Linked DNA regions of Homo sapiens: region 1 is linked to region 2. The links are contacts of gene promoters, found by promoter capture Hi-C in blood cells and fetal thymus (Javierre and others, 2016). All regions are on one chromosome and are shown on one strand. The core of a region is centred on a gene start or on the middle of the fragment in contact, and the rest is flanking DNA. Distances in the headings are between cores, read along the strand shown. Region 1 holds the start of SPATA31F3 (SPATA31 subfamily F member 3). Region 2 holds the start of RUSC2 (RUN and SH3 domain containing 2).

Region 1 (6,595 bases), core at 2,399-4,898, 600 kb after region 2:
CTTGTGCTAATGAATTTTTTGGTTGTTTTTAAGTTGTGGTAAGATATGCTTAACATAAAATTTACCATTTTAGTTATTTTTAAGTGTACAATTCAGTGCCATTAAGGGCATTCATTTATGAATAAGATGGTTGTATTCATCACCCCAAACAGAAACTTCTGTACCCATTAAACAATAACACTCTATTTCCCCCTTCTCTAGCCCCTTCCCCAGCAAAATGTTGGCTTTTGCTTCTTGTGGATGCCTTGTCTTTGAAACTAGATTTTTAAGAATCTTGAAAGCAGGTAGGCAATACAACTCAAATGCCTTTGTACTCTCAACACTGCCCAACTTAGGGTTAAGCACGTATTGAGTGCTCACTATTCCTGTCTGGTGGAGGAACTAATGCTGGAGGAAGGATCAAATACCCTTTTCAGAGATTTTGTTTGTTTGTTTTTGAGGCAGAGTCTCATTCTGTCACCCAGGCTGGAGTGCAGTGGTGTGATCTCGGCTCACTGCAACTTCTGCCTCCTGGGTTCAAGCGATTCTCCTGCTTCAGCCTCCTGAGTAGCTGGGATTACAGGTGCCCAGCACTACACTTGGCTAATTTTTTGTATTTTTAGTAGAGATGGGGTTTCACCATGTTGGCCAGGCTGGTCTCGAACTCCTGACTCAGGTGATCCGCCTGCCTCAGCTTCCCAAAGTGCTGGGATTACAGGTGTGAGCCGCCGCACTTGGCCCCTTTTCAGAGATTTTGAGCCTAAGACCAACCACTTTTATCAGGGCAAGAACTTCTCAAGGAAACTCAGAAATCCTAGGGTGTTGGGGACATGCCATAATATTGATAGGGGTCATGAAGTTAACATTAATGTGAGAATCAGTGGGCAAAGGAGTGGTAGATCCCGGGGTTAAATGAGGAAAAATCCTGCTCTGCCTAAAGTTATTCAAATTCAGATTTTCATAAAACACTCTTTTAGGCAAACATTCCAACCACGGTGGATTCAACCAAAGAGCCACAAGTTTGTGAACCTTAATCGAAAGTTTTGCCAATAACTCATCTCCATGAATAGGCTAGATGCTATAAAATCTGTAGAGGCAATTCTGGAAAAATCAAGCCTTGTACAGAGCTCCAGAAGTGAGCCTCATTCATTTGCCTCCATGAAAGGTAGTGCTTACAATCTCTGCTCACCCATCTCAGGCTGGACCACGCAGATTGGGAGAAGTCCTTCTTTAACTCTCAGAAAGTTATTTAAAAGAACATCAGCTTTGTCCTTTCCTTGACATGTCACACACTGCCCTCTTTCTGAACCTCTCAGTACTGACCATATATCATTGCTGGTGGCATTAAAAATCGGTTTCCAAGATTTAACAATATGATGCTTGCCCTATCCTCTATTTTTTGTTGTTGTTGTTATCTTCCCAGTACAGATGATGTAGTTCATGGAGTTCCTCTGATCTATCCACTGTCTCTCTTATAGGGCATGTAGTGTGCATAGAGACTCGGTGTCATATGCACACTAGGTGTCAGGAATAGGTGTCAGGCCATTGTAGTAAAGGGGAGAGCTAAGCCATAACAGTATAGAGAGTAGAGAGAACATGAAAAGGTACATGTTGCCCATGACCTTGGCATCTTTTGCCCCAGGCTCTGTAGCCCATACAGAGCACCAGACACCCTCATCTGAACATTGAATCACCATAGTAAGCCTCTTTAAAAACAAATAAAGGTCTGTGATGCTATCCCTGCCTTGTGGAACAGGAGGGCTTTGTGATGCAGTCTGGTGATTTGGATCCCTCTTCTGTGAGGCAGAAATGACGAGGTGTAAAATCTGGAGGTATTAGGTTCTAAGACAGTGAAAGACTAGGGAGAGGGATGGCTAGTGAGGTTTAGATCATGTTGAGCCCTACCTTTGTTTTGTGGGATGTTGGATATCCCTTATACACCTATGGATCCATCTGCATTATTGCATTAATTATTTGGCAAGTGAAAAAGAGCTGCCAAAAATTAAGCTTGGTACCTAACAGGAGCTGTTGCCGGGTAGGGAAACACTATGACCATGGCTAAATTGATGTGCCTCAAACAAGATTTTATCCCCGAGCTTTCTCTTGTTACTCTTAGCCCTTGCTTTTTAAAGGGGTCTCCTCACTGGACACCAGAAGAGCTCCCAATTTGGGTGATTATTCTGGTTGGCAGCTATTTAGGGCCATTTGATGGCTGAACTCCTTTGACTTCTGGACCCATCCATCCTTTAATCTGTTCCACTTTTCCTCCCGTCTCATCCTAAAGTCCCCACCGAACTTATGAAAGGAATGGGGGTGGGAGGCATGGAGTATGGAAGAGCGTGAAAGTGAGTCAGAAATAAGCAAATAAGAAAACTCTTGGGGTGAAAAAGAATACAGAAAGGAAAGATAGAAGAGTATATAAAATTGGAACACAGAAAAAGACCAGGAAATGTTTATGAGTTTTGTTTCATTTTAGATATGGGAAAAAATGGTGTAGCAGCTTTGCATTCTAATGTTTTTGTCTTTAAGTGTCACCGAAGAGTCCAACAAAAGTCTGGAGATAGAACATCAAGAGGTAAAGTCCCAGTCTCTCCTCTAATTCACTTCTGCTGTGAGTGAGGTTCCCACGGATCCTGACCCTCTATGACCCCTGCTGCTAACAGCAGGTGCTCTAACCACTGCAGACTCTAGTACCCCCCAGGGACAATTTCTCATGGAAGACTTCCTTGGGTGGAAAATCAGAGCCTAGGCACATTAAAAAATTCTCTATCTTATCCTCCTGAGAATAAAGAATGAGGAATTAGGGCAGAAGTCCTCAACTCTGTCATTTACTAGTTTTACAAACCTGTGGAAGTCTCTTCAACTCTCAGTCTTGTTCTCCATAAAATGGGCATGTGATGATCCTTCCTCACTCCCAGTGTGATGGTGAAGGACAAATGAGACAAGGTGCAGAACAACACATCGTAAACGGTTAAGTTATACACAGATGTGACTTAGTGTTCTGACTCTGGGGTTTTCAGTATCTTCTCATTAAAAGGCCTTCAGCTTCTTATAGGATGTCCCTGAATCCTCTCCAGTTCCACATAACACTCACTATCTTCTGTTTCTTCAGCTAGGAGAACTTCACAGGAAGAAGCCGAGAAGTTGTGGAAGCTGCTGTTTCTCATGAAAAGGTAATCTCTTCTTCTTTGCAGTCTCCCAGCTGCTAGTCTGGTCTGTGATCATTTCTCAGCTTGGCTTGGGGTAGAGATGAGAAGAGGGAAAATGGATGGGAGGGAGACATACACAGTGGAGGCTGGTTCACTAGTTGAGAGAGTTACCAGGGCAGGGGGGCTGGGCCAGACATCTCAGGAGGGAAGGGTCACCCAATTCTGCTTTGGGCTAGGGTCACAGTAGTTCTAGAATTCAGGCTTGTACTAGTGTATAATTCATAAAAGACTCTACACAGGGTTGCATTCAGCCACGAGACAAGCTATCCAGTCAAGAGGAATGGATTTTGCGTAAAGAAGTCATCCCTGTCTTATTCTCTTTATTCCCTCTCCTCTGAGTCTGACTGGATTCTGCTGACATTACCTCCTCTGGCTCTGTCATTAGGGAGACAGCCCTCAGATGGCAGCCTATCATCTTATCCTCTTCTTAAGATTTCTAGAGAACAGGATTGATTCCCAAAAGATATTGAGTATATCAGCAGGGATACCAAATAGCTCTCAGAATGCAGAGGTCCTACATGAACTTCAAGCCCAAATACCGGGCTTTGGGTTTCTTAGCCTCAAATGAGACTGATCCGGGTTCTAACTGGTGATGCCCCATCAGCTAACCGCCTGGCTCCGTTCTCCTAGTTCAGCTTTTCAACAAGGTCAACAGAGAACTGACCCCAGCTCCCAGCCTTCTCTGAGGGCCACGCCCTCCCATGGGTCGTCTGAAGCCTTGCCCAACAAGCTCTAGATCGTCAGCCCAGCCCACCTTGCCAAATGGCTTTTTCTTTTTCTTTTCTTTTTTCTTTTTTTTTTTTGAGACAGAGTTTCACTCTTGTTGCCCAGGCTGGAGTACAACGGCACAATCTCGGCTCACTGCAAGCTCCGTCTCCCAGGTTCAAGGGACTCTCCTACCTCTGCCTCCCAAGTAGCTGGGACTACAGGCATACGCCACCATGCCTGGCTAATTTTTGTATTTTTAGTAGAGACGGGGTTTCACCATGTTGGCCAGGCTGATCTCGAACTCCTGACCTCAGGTGATCCATCCACCTCAGCCTCCCAAAGTGCTAGGATTAGAGGCATGAGCCACTATGTCCAGCCTCCAAATAGCATTTTCTTAGGAAGAAAAACAGGGAGGTAGACAACAAGAGAGTGTAGGCTCCAGGATTTTCAGGACTGGGAAAGGACAATGCCAACCCCGGCCCACACTTTTCCGAGAAGGCAGATGTCACTCCATCATTAATGTTTGTCATGTTTCTCTTCCCAGCCAGGGCTGGCTTCCTCAGGAAGGAAGTGTGCGGCGAATCCTGTGTGCAGACCCCTGCTGCCAAATCTGCAATGTTATGGCTCTGGAGATTAAGCAATTGCTGGCAGGTGAGAACAACCAGATCTCCCTGACTTCACTGGGGCCATCACAGGGCTCCTCTTGCCTAGAGGCTTTGTCCACATCTAGTGTGTCTTTTAAGCATAGTCAGGATCTGGGCTCCCCGAAATCCAAAGAGCTTTCACTGGCATCTGTAACTCCAACACTGTCACAATTAATGGATCAGAAATCTTTAACCCAGTCAGCTGCCCGGTCAGCTGGTGCAGACAGCGTCCAAGATTCCTGGGCTGATCACTTTCAGCGAGGACAGAGATCTCAAGTCCCAGCTGTGTCCCAGGTCATGGGATCTCTGTCTTCAAACTTTGAGAAGCCTGGAATTCCTCTGAGCCAGCAGGAGAGGACGAAAAACAACTCCAAATTTGTCCTGGAGAACCAAGGTCAGCAGCCCTTGAATACTAGATTCCCTTTCTTTCCCTGAACCCAGAGCTCCCAAACCTACAACAACAGCCTATGACCCTACATTCCTTTCCAACTGCTATTGCAATGTCCAAAAAGTCCTGAGGAATCTTCAAGTACAAGTGGGATATTGTTGCACATATTCCCACAACTGAGGGCTCCCAAGATCTGTGGAGGAGTTCTGTACAGGGCAGCTTATACCACACCACTTCTAATTTTCCAAAGGATGGAAAACAGACAGACAAACAGCCATTTCTTTCACTCTGAATGCTATCTCTAAGGCTTCTGCTGAACAGATGAGCTTCCATCCCTTTGACTCTGGGTTTCATGGGAGGCTAGCTGGTTCACCTAAGCTTTCAGGGTTTTTGAAGGATCCACTATGGACTCAGAGCAGAAAAATTACTGTGAACAAATCCCAAACCCCATGGTTCTAGCTCTACCCTCTCCTCTCTTTCAGCTTCTAAGTGGCCTCTGTCCACTGCCTAGAGGATGCACTGAGGCCTCAATGTGCCACATCTGTAGCTACCTTACTGTGGTTTCTCTTTTCTGCACATTACTGTCTGCCTTTAGAGATCCCTGGTCTGACTTTAGAAATCTCCAAAACAGGGGAGGCTTTGGCCCTTTCTCTGCAATGATTTCTCCTTCACCTCTGTACTAATTAAAATCTCCCCTCCTTCCCCACCTTTTCCCCCACATTCTCCATCTGACCATTGACAAATCCAGATCAATGTCCTATATCTGACTCAGGCTAAGTGAAAGCCTTGGAGTGGCACCTGCTGTAGAGGCAGCTCCAGCTTCAGTGGAGTTTGCCAGCTGTTGTCCAGAGATCTCTGTAGATCCAGGAAATCATACAATGTAAGCCCTGAGACATGTTGCAGCCTTTCCCACTAGATCCAGGACACTCTTTGATTGGGGAAGTCCATTTCAGTCCTCAAGAGGGAGGAAGCATTCTCCTAGACCATGCCCAGAGGCTGCTAGGATTCCACCTCCAGGAGCAATTGAAACAGAGGGTTGATTTGTCATTGCTGGGACCTGATCCAAAAGATCCAGCAGTCTATCCAGTTCATCCTGTGACCTGATGACCAATAATCCCTGCCCTGGAGCAGTACAGCCCTGACCTATGTGGGTCTTCCCAGCATGCAGCACCAGAAGCTAGTGGGAATAGTGGCCTTCTCTGATCCACTGTGGCAGGAGGGCCAGTCCGCAATTGTTTCCTCAGGCCAAGGTAATGTTGCAGAGCCACATAGATTACAAATATGGGAAGATCTGCTAGGGCATTGTCCCTGCCCATATCTGCCATTGTTGGGACTACAAATCACTGGTTCTGCAGTATTCCAAAGGCCTGGGAAGCAACTTGGCGCCCCTGTCCTCTGAAAAGCAAACACCTGGACCTGGAAGTGACACATATCAGCCCCTACACAGATCAGGAAAGGACACTCTGAATACTGACAGGCCTTGATCAGCAGCAACAGGGCTTGCCAGATGCTGTTACTGATGATCCTGAGCTGCCCAGACCCTGTCCCAGGAAGCCACTGAGAAACTTGAGACAAGTTTTGGCCCTTCTGTCAGGGCTGCCTGCTCTCTATTATGTGGCTCTTTCCAGGGCTGTGGCCCAGGCAATCACTCACGAATCCACAATCAC
Region 2 (6,668 bases), core at 516-3,015:
TCAGCCTCCTGAGTTGCTGGGACTTCAGCCTCCTGAGTTGCTGGGACTACATGTGCACACCACCATGCCCGGTAATTTTTGTATTTTTAGTAGAGATGGGGTTTCACCATGTTGGCCAGGCTGATCTTGAACTTCTGACCTCTAGTGATCCGCCCACCTGGGCCTCCCAAAGTGCCGGGATTACAGGCTGAGCCACTGTGCCTGGCCTGATCCAAGACTTTATAAAGACATGTAAGAGGGTGGGAGACAGAAAGCGGAAAAGGATACATCAAAACTAGCAATGGATGAATGAGAACATGTCCAGCCTCCAGTTAAGGCAACTGTGGCTTCAAAAAGGAATCTTAAATACCAGCACAGAAATCAGAGGGATCCTAACCTGGCTCAAAACAGAAGAGAAACAGTGGCTGGCCATACAGCAGGACGGGCATAACTAACAGAATACCAGGTATACTGTTTGGATCTGCTCTTCCTTCCATTAAGCCATCCACCACTGCTTAATATCTAAGGAGCCGGCTAAGAAAATCCAGTCACTACTTTTATTTGCTAATACTTTGAGCCCCAGTTACAATAATGCCACTACTAATTAGGTAACTACTTTCTACCTTATCAACTCCTACAGCTTTCCAGCCATTGTTTCATCCCTCAGCGATACCACCTGCTTCCGCGTGGAACCCAAACCCCCAGGAAACTAAATCTGCTCAGGTCACCCACCTAGGAATAAATAAAAACAGGTTTCAGGCCCTTTGTCCTTTGTAAATTCCGCCTTTTTTTTTTTTTTAAGGCCTGTGTTCTTTATCACGGACACTGTTCACATAGTGGTAATCCTTGCCTGACTCAGATCTACTTGTTCCTGCGTTTCATTCCTCCGCTGCTCAATTACTTGTTCAAAACGCAAAGGACAACTGGTAGTGAAGACCCTCCACCAGCAACACTACCATGTGCCAGGCACCGTGCTGGGGACCGGGGATACAAAGATGAGTAGTGTACCGTCCTTGCCCCCAGGACAGTTCCCCGTGTCCGCAGGGCCGGCCTGGAGGGCCACAGCCAACTGTGGGCAACAGGATCACCGTGCCCTTCGCGGCAAGTGAGTGCAGTAGTAGGGGACGGTTACTGCCAAGCCAAAGGTTTTCTCCAGGTAAAACTGGATGACAGAGAGACAGAGACTGAAGCAACGCCGGCGCCGGGCGGATAATAAAGGGAGGCAGGGGCTAAAAGGGTGGAGGGAGCAGAGGACCCGGCCGGGAACTGGCAGTAGGGAGGCCCCCGCTGCAGTCGCCGGCCTGGGTGCCGGGCGGCCACGCTTCCCCAAAGCCGTCACAGGGACTTGGGGTACCAAGGTGACTACTGGGCGCGAGTCGTTTTGTGGGGGGAGGGTGTCCCCAAGGGGGCAGTTTGAGGAGACGGTTGGGGATGCATCTGGGGTGGCGCCCAAAGGGACGGTGGGTGCTGGGTGTTTGAAGGTCCGGTGGACGCAGAGCTGAAGGGTCAGGAGAAGGCCAAGGGTCAGAAGGGCTGGGGACGAGGTCTGCCCAGGGGGTCGGGGCGGACGCAGAGGGCGGGTGCAGCCGAGGGGGAAGGGCTGAAGGGAAGGGCAGGCGCTGAAGGCACATAGGTGGGAAGACAGGCCCTCCCCTAAGGGAGACCTTGGAACGCGGGGCAGTGGGTCTGTGGGACCCTGCCCGCCTCCGGAGAGGCGTTCCTACCTCGTTTCTCGCCTCAGCCTCGTCCTTCCGCGCCGGCGGCGGCGGCGGCGGCGGCGTGTCTCGCCCTCCAGGGGTCGCGTTGCAGGCTAGAGGCGCCGGCGGCCCCTCCCTCCGGGCGGGTTGGAAAGGCCGGCCCCTGTCGGCGTGGCGCGATGGTCCGATCTGGGTTGCCCTCAGGCCGCCCCTCCGGGCGGCGCGTTGGTTCGGTCCGCCCGGCCTAAGGTGCTCGCCCCCTCCCCGGCTCCCGCAGCGATGGGCGCAGCCGAGTCACGCGCAGAGCTTTCCCGCTAAGGGAGCGGAGAGGCTTCCGCCGTGGCCCAATCTTCTGCGGCCCGCGCCCGCCCCCGCGGGGTGGTGCCTGGCGACGCGCGGCTCCCGGGTGCTGGAACCCAGGGAAACCTTCCGCGGGCCTCCAGGGCCGGTGGGTGTGAGTCCCAGCTTCGCCTGAGGCGGCGGTTCTCAACGCTGGCTTCCCAGTAGAACCTAGTGTGGAAACTAACCAAACAACAGAAGGAGGGCTGACCTCACACTGGACCGACTCAGAACCACTGGGGTGGAGTGGGGTGGGGTGAGGTGGGGTTGGCCTCCAGTGCATAGCCAGGGTTCGGAACCCCTGATGAAACGTAGAACCCATGCGCCCCCTGCCCTTCAGGGCCGGATGTGTGGGGGACATGGAAGATGCCTGTGTGTGACTCCTGCTGTTTACAGCCAGAGGGGGATGGGGCAGGCAGTCCTGCAAATGTTATGGGAAACCCACTGTATTAGTCCGTTCTGACACTGCTATGAAGAAATACTATGAAGGAAAGAGGTCTGACTCACAGTTCCGCATTGTTGGCGAGGCCTCAGGAAGCTTATAATCATGGCAAAAGGCAAAGAAGTAGCCATCCTTTTCGCAGGGTGGCAGGACAGAGTGAGTGCAGGCAAGGGAAATGCCAGACGCTTATAAAATCATCAGATCTTGTGGGACTCACTCACTGTCACGAGAAGGGCGCAGGGGAAACCAGCCCCATCATCCAATTACCTCCACCTGTTCCCGCCCTTGACACAGGGGGATTATGGGAATTACAATTCAAGATGAGATTTTGGGTGGGGACACAGCCAAACTGTTACAGGTAGTTAGGCATGAGCGGGGCAGGAGAGGGTTCTCCCCTGCTACCCACTAGGGATGTTGGGTGATGGTTCTGAGGCAGGAGAATAGGGACTGGAGGCAGGGAACCTAAGACTGGTTCATGCCAACTTCCTGGAACTAAATTGAAAGGAAAACCCTAACTTTCCACACCTAAGTAACAAACCCCCCACCCAACTTTTCTGCCCAGCAGATGGGAAATTGGCTATCTGCAACCAATTAGACTGACTGCAGCCGAGTCTAACTTTGCATAGAAGTATAACTTTGTAACTTCACCCTAGCCTCTGATTGGTTGCTTCTTGCAACCAATCAGATGTTTGCACAGGTGTGCGACCTTTGTAACTTCACTTCAGCCTCTGCTTGGCTGCTTTCTGCAACCAATCAGACTGATTGCAGGCTACGAATTCATTTACATGAGGTGAGCATGAAGTGGCGGGTAACTTCTAGGGGGTATTTGGACCCAAGAAGATTCTGTTTCCTGGCCCTTGAGCCGCTGCTCCGGCTGCTCCCACACTGTGGAGTGTGCTTTCGTTTTCAATACATCCCTGCTTTCCTTCTTTTGTTCCTTCATTCTTTCTTTGCTTTGCTGGGCGTTTTGTCCAATTCTTTGTTCAAAACGCCAAGAACCTGGACAACTTGCAGTCAGACCCTCTACCAGTGACAGTTCCATAATTACCTCATTGCTTCTTTAAAAAGGATAATTCGGCTGGGCCAGGGAGAGGCCATTTCCTGATGGTCCACACATGTTAACATCAAAATGCTAATTGAATGCAGGCCTCAGGGAGAAGCAACTTTCTGGGCATGCGTGTTAAGAGACAAAAATGGTGACGTATGATCTCCTGGGGGCACCCTCCACCGGAAAACGGGAAGGAAAGCACTGCGCATTCGGGAAGCCCACTCTAAGGGAAGAATCATGGGAAAGAGGCCAGCCTGTAAAAGTCCTAGGATCTTGGTTAGGCACTTGACCTTCTCTCTTTAACCTTCACGTGCCCGCTTGGGTTTCTTCCAAGCGCACCTTCCTTTCTTTCCTGTTCTAAGGCCTTTTTAAATAAACTTCCATTCCTACTCTGGAACTTGCCTTGGTCTCTTTTTCTGCTTTCTGCCCCACAGTCGAATTCTTTCTTCTGATGAAGCAAGGACTAAAGTTGCTACAGACCCATAAGGATAGGCTGCAGGTAACTTGGGGTAACTCAGACCTCTTCCACCACTAACAAAACCATATCACCCATTGAGAAGACTCTTAGGCTAGACGCGGTGGCTCACGCCTGTAATCCCAGCACTTTGGGAGGCTGAGGCGGGCGGATCACCTGAGGTCAGGAGTTTGAGACCACTAGCATGGTAAAACCCCGTCTCTACTCAAAATACAAAAATCAGCCGGGTGTGGTGGCGCATGCCTGTAATCCCAGCTACTCGGGAGGCTGAGGAAGGAGAATCACTTGAACCTGGGAGGCGGAGGTTGCAGTGAGCTGAGATTGCGCCATTGCACTCCAGCCTGGGCAACAGAGCAAGACTCTGTCTCAAAAAAAAAAATAGAAGACTCTGTTCTAGGTTCCATACTCACTGAAAGAGTTAGAGACTGGGGTCACAGTCAAGGAAGCAGATAAATGTCAGGATATGTAGCTTGTCTTCAGGCTTCACAGAAGTGGTGTGAGCTGAATTTTGAAGAATGAGTGGGAGGTAAAGAGAGAATTGGCATGTGCAAAAGAACTGAGGGGCAAAATGACCAATGTGATTGAGAAGTGTGGGAGGCAACGGAGACAGCTGAGGAGAGCTGGTCAGGGTTTGGTGATGAAACGCCTATGACTACTAAGGAGTTGGGAGAGATACTGAAGGGCTTTATTGCAGAGGCAGGAATGACAAGATCAAATATGAATGTTAGAAATAAAGTTCTAAGGGCTTAAATAAGGGTGACATGGAGAGAGCTAGCATTGCCAGTGGGGAACCAATGAGGAATTGCATGTTTGCACAGTGTGATCCCCCAGTTAAATAGTCTGGGTTGGGGAATTAAGCCAAACCAGGCCAATTAGAATTACTTCTCTAAGAATTTGGAATTGGGAGACAAAGAGCTACATCTCTGCTCAGACTTAAATTGGACTTAAGGGTAATTTGGGAGCTATGCAGTAGTCATCTTCTACTTGCCCATTTGGCCTGAGCAGCATTGAAAACCAGTTTGCTGAGAAAGAAGATCAATCAGTTGCACACAGAGAAGCAAGTCTAGACACAAAAAGACTGCTCCCTAGGTTCTTGGGACCTTCCAGCAGCTGGTTCCACTTCTTTCTGAGGCCCAGCAGGATTCCTTCCCCAGGATCATGATGCATCCTTCTATCCATTCATAGGAATCTCATTTTTGGCTTCAGCGAGTGTGGGTTACTTCCTGTTGTTTGTGTTAAAGAATAACTTTCAAAAAGGTAAAATAATGAGCCTTATGCAAGTATTTTTATTTTTTATTTTTTGAGACAGGTTCTCTGTTACCCAGGCTGGAGTGCAGTGGTGCGATCATGGCTCACTGCAGCCTCGACTTCCGGGCTTCAGCGATCCTCCCACCTCAGCCTCCAGAGTAGCTGGGACTAAAGATATTTTTTGCATTTTTGGTAGAGACAGGGTTTTGCCATGTTACCCAGGCTGGTCTTGAACTCCTGAGCTCAAGCAATCCACCCGCCTCCACCTCTTAAAGTGCTGGGATTACAGACATGAGCCACTGAGCCTGGCAGAGCCTTATACAAATATACAATGAACATATTTCAAATTTTTTATTTAACTAATGAGGGAACCAGTAAGATACTAAAACCAGTTCAAATGAAGATTTGACTTAGAAATGTCTTTTCTCTAATGGACAAAATTTATTTGCATCACCCAGAACAGGAATCGTTTGCACTGTTATGGGCAGAAAATCTTTTGTATTATTTATTGTCAGTATTCTGAAGTTAACTTCTAACTCCAACGAGTTAGAAAATAGCTTACTTGTAAAATAGGAACCTAGTCAAAGGAAATCAAAGGCTCTCACCGCTAATATAATCAAATAATTCCCAAAGATTCTTAACAGCACCCAACATTCCATTAAAAAGACACCCATTTCAAAGTATTTCTTAAGTTTTCCAGACACTTGCAAATCAAAGAATATACGAAAACACAGAGACATAAGAAAGCATGATGCTGGCCGGGTGCGGTGTCTCACACCTGTAATCCCAGCACTTTGGGAGGCCAAGGCAGGCACATCACCTCAGATCAGGAGTTCAAGATCAGCCTGGCCAACATGGTGAAACCCCGTCTCTACTAAAAATACAAAAATTAGTTGGGCATGCTGGCAGGTGCCTGTAATCCCAGCTACTCAGGAGGTTGAGGCAGGAGAATCGCTTGAACCCGGGAGGTGGAGGTTGCAGTGAGCTCAGATTGCACCATTGCACTCCAGCCTGGGTAACAAGAGCGTAACTCCATCTCAAAAACAAACAAACAAAGAGGCTGGGCACGGTGGGTCATGCCTGTAATCCCAGAACTTTGGGAGGCAAAGGTGGGTGGATCACCTGAGGTCAGGAGTTCGAAACCAGCCTGACCAACATGGTGAAAAGCCCACCTCTACTAAAAATACAAAATTAGCCAGGCATGGTGGCACATGCCTGTAATCCCAGCTACTTGCCTCTCTGAGGCAGGAGAACTGCTTGAACCTGGGAGGTGGAGGTTGCAGTGAGCCGAGATCACACCATTGCACTCCAGCCTGGGCAACAAGAGTGAAACTCTGTCTCAAAAAAAAAAAAAAAAACAAAGAAAGCATGATGCCTTAGGGAAACTCAAGTAGTATGGGCATTAGTTAAGCATGGGCAAAGTGTAGGAGGGAGGCAACA

What was found. The method cuts DNA at HindIII sites, captures the fragments that hold promoters and counts their contacts. A CHiCAGO score of 5 or more calls a contact.
Region 1: a contact is called between a fragment that was not itself captured here and the fragment with the promoter of RUSC2 in region 2, in 3 of 17 cell types (naive CD8 T cells, naive B cells and total B cells). The highest score is 8.0, in naive CD8 T cells.

Annotation. Positions count from the first base shown.
Region 1 is chr9:34,890,998-34,897,592 of GRCh38, reverse strand. SPATA31F3 (SPATA31 subfamily F member 3) reads left to right here and starts at 1,829. Exons shown (of 5, transcript NM_001309427.2): 1 at 1,829-2,014; 2 at 2,509-2,554; 3 at 3,092-3,152; 4 at 4,441-4,547. The coding sequence starts at 1,871. It also overlaps a transcript of PHF24 not described here. The HindIII fragment of the contact is 3,320 bases long and covers 1,989-5,308 here.
Region 2 is chr9:35,485,208-35,491,875 of GRCh38, reverse strand. It overlaps RUSC2 (RUN and SH3 domain containing 2), which reads right to left and starts at 1,765. Exons shown (of 12, transcript NM_014806.5): 1 at 1,704-1,765. LOC105376026 (a long non-coding RNA gene) reads left to right here and starts at 249. Exons shown (of 2, transcript XR_929580.4): 1 at 249-445; 2 at 620-757. RefSeq lists a silencer at 1,797-2,096. The HindIII fragment of the contact is 5,552 bases long and covers 1-2,555 here.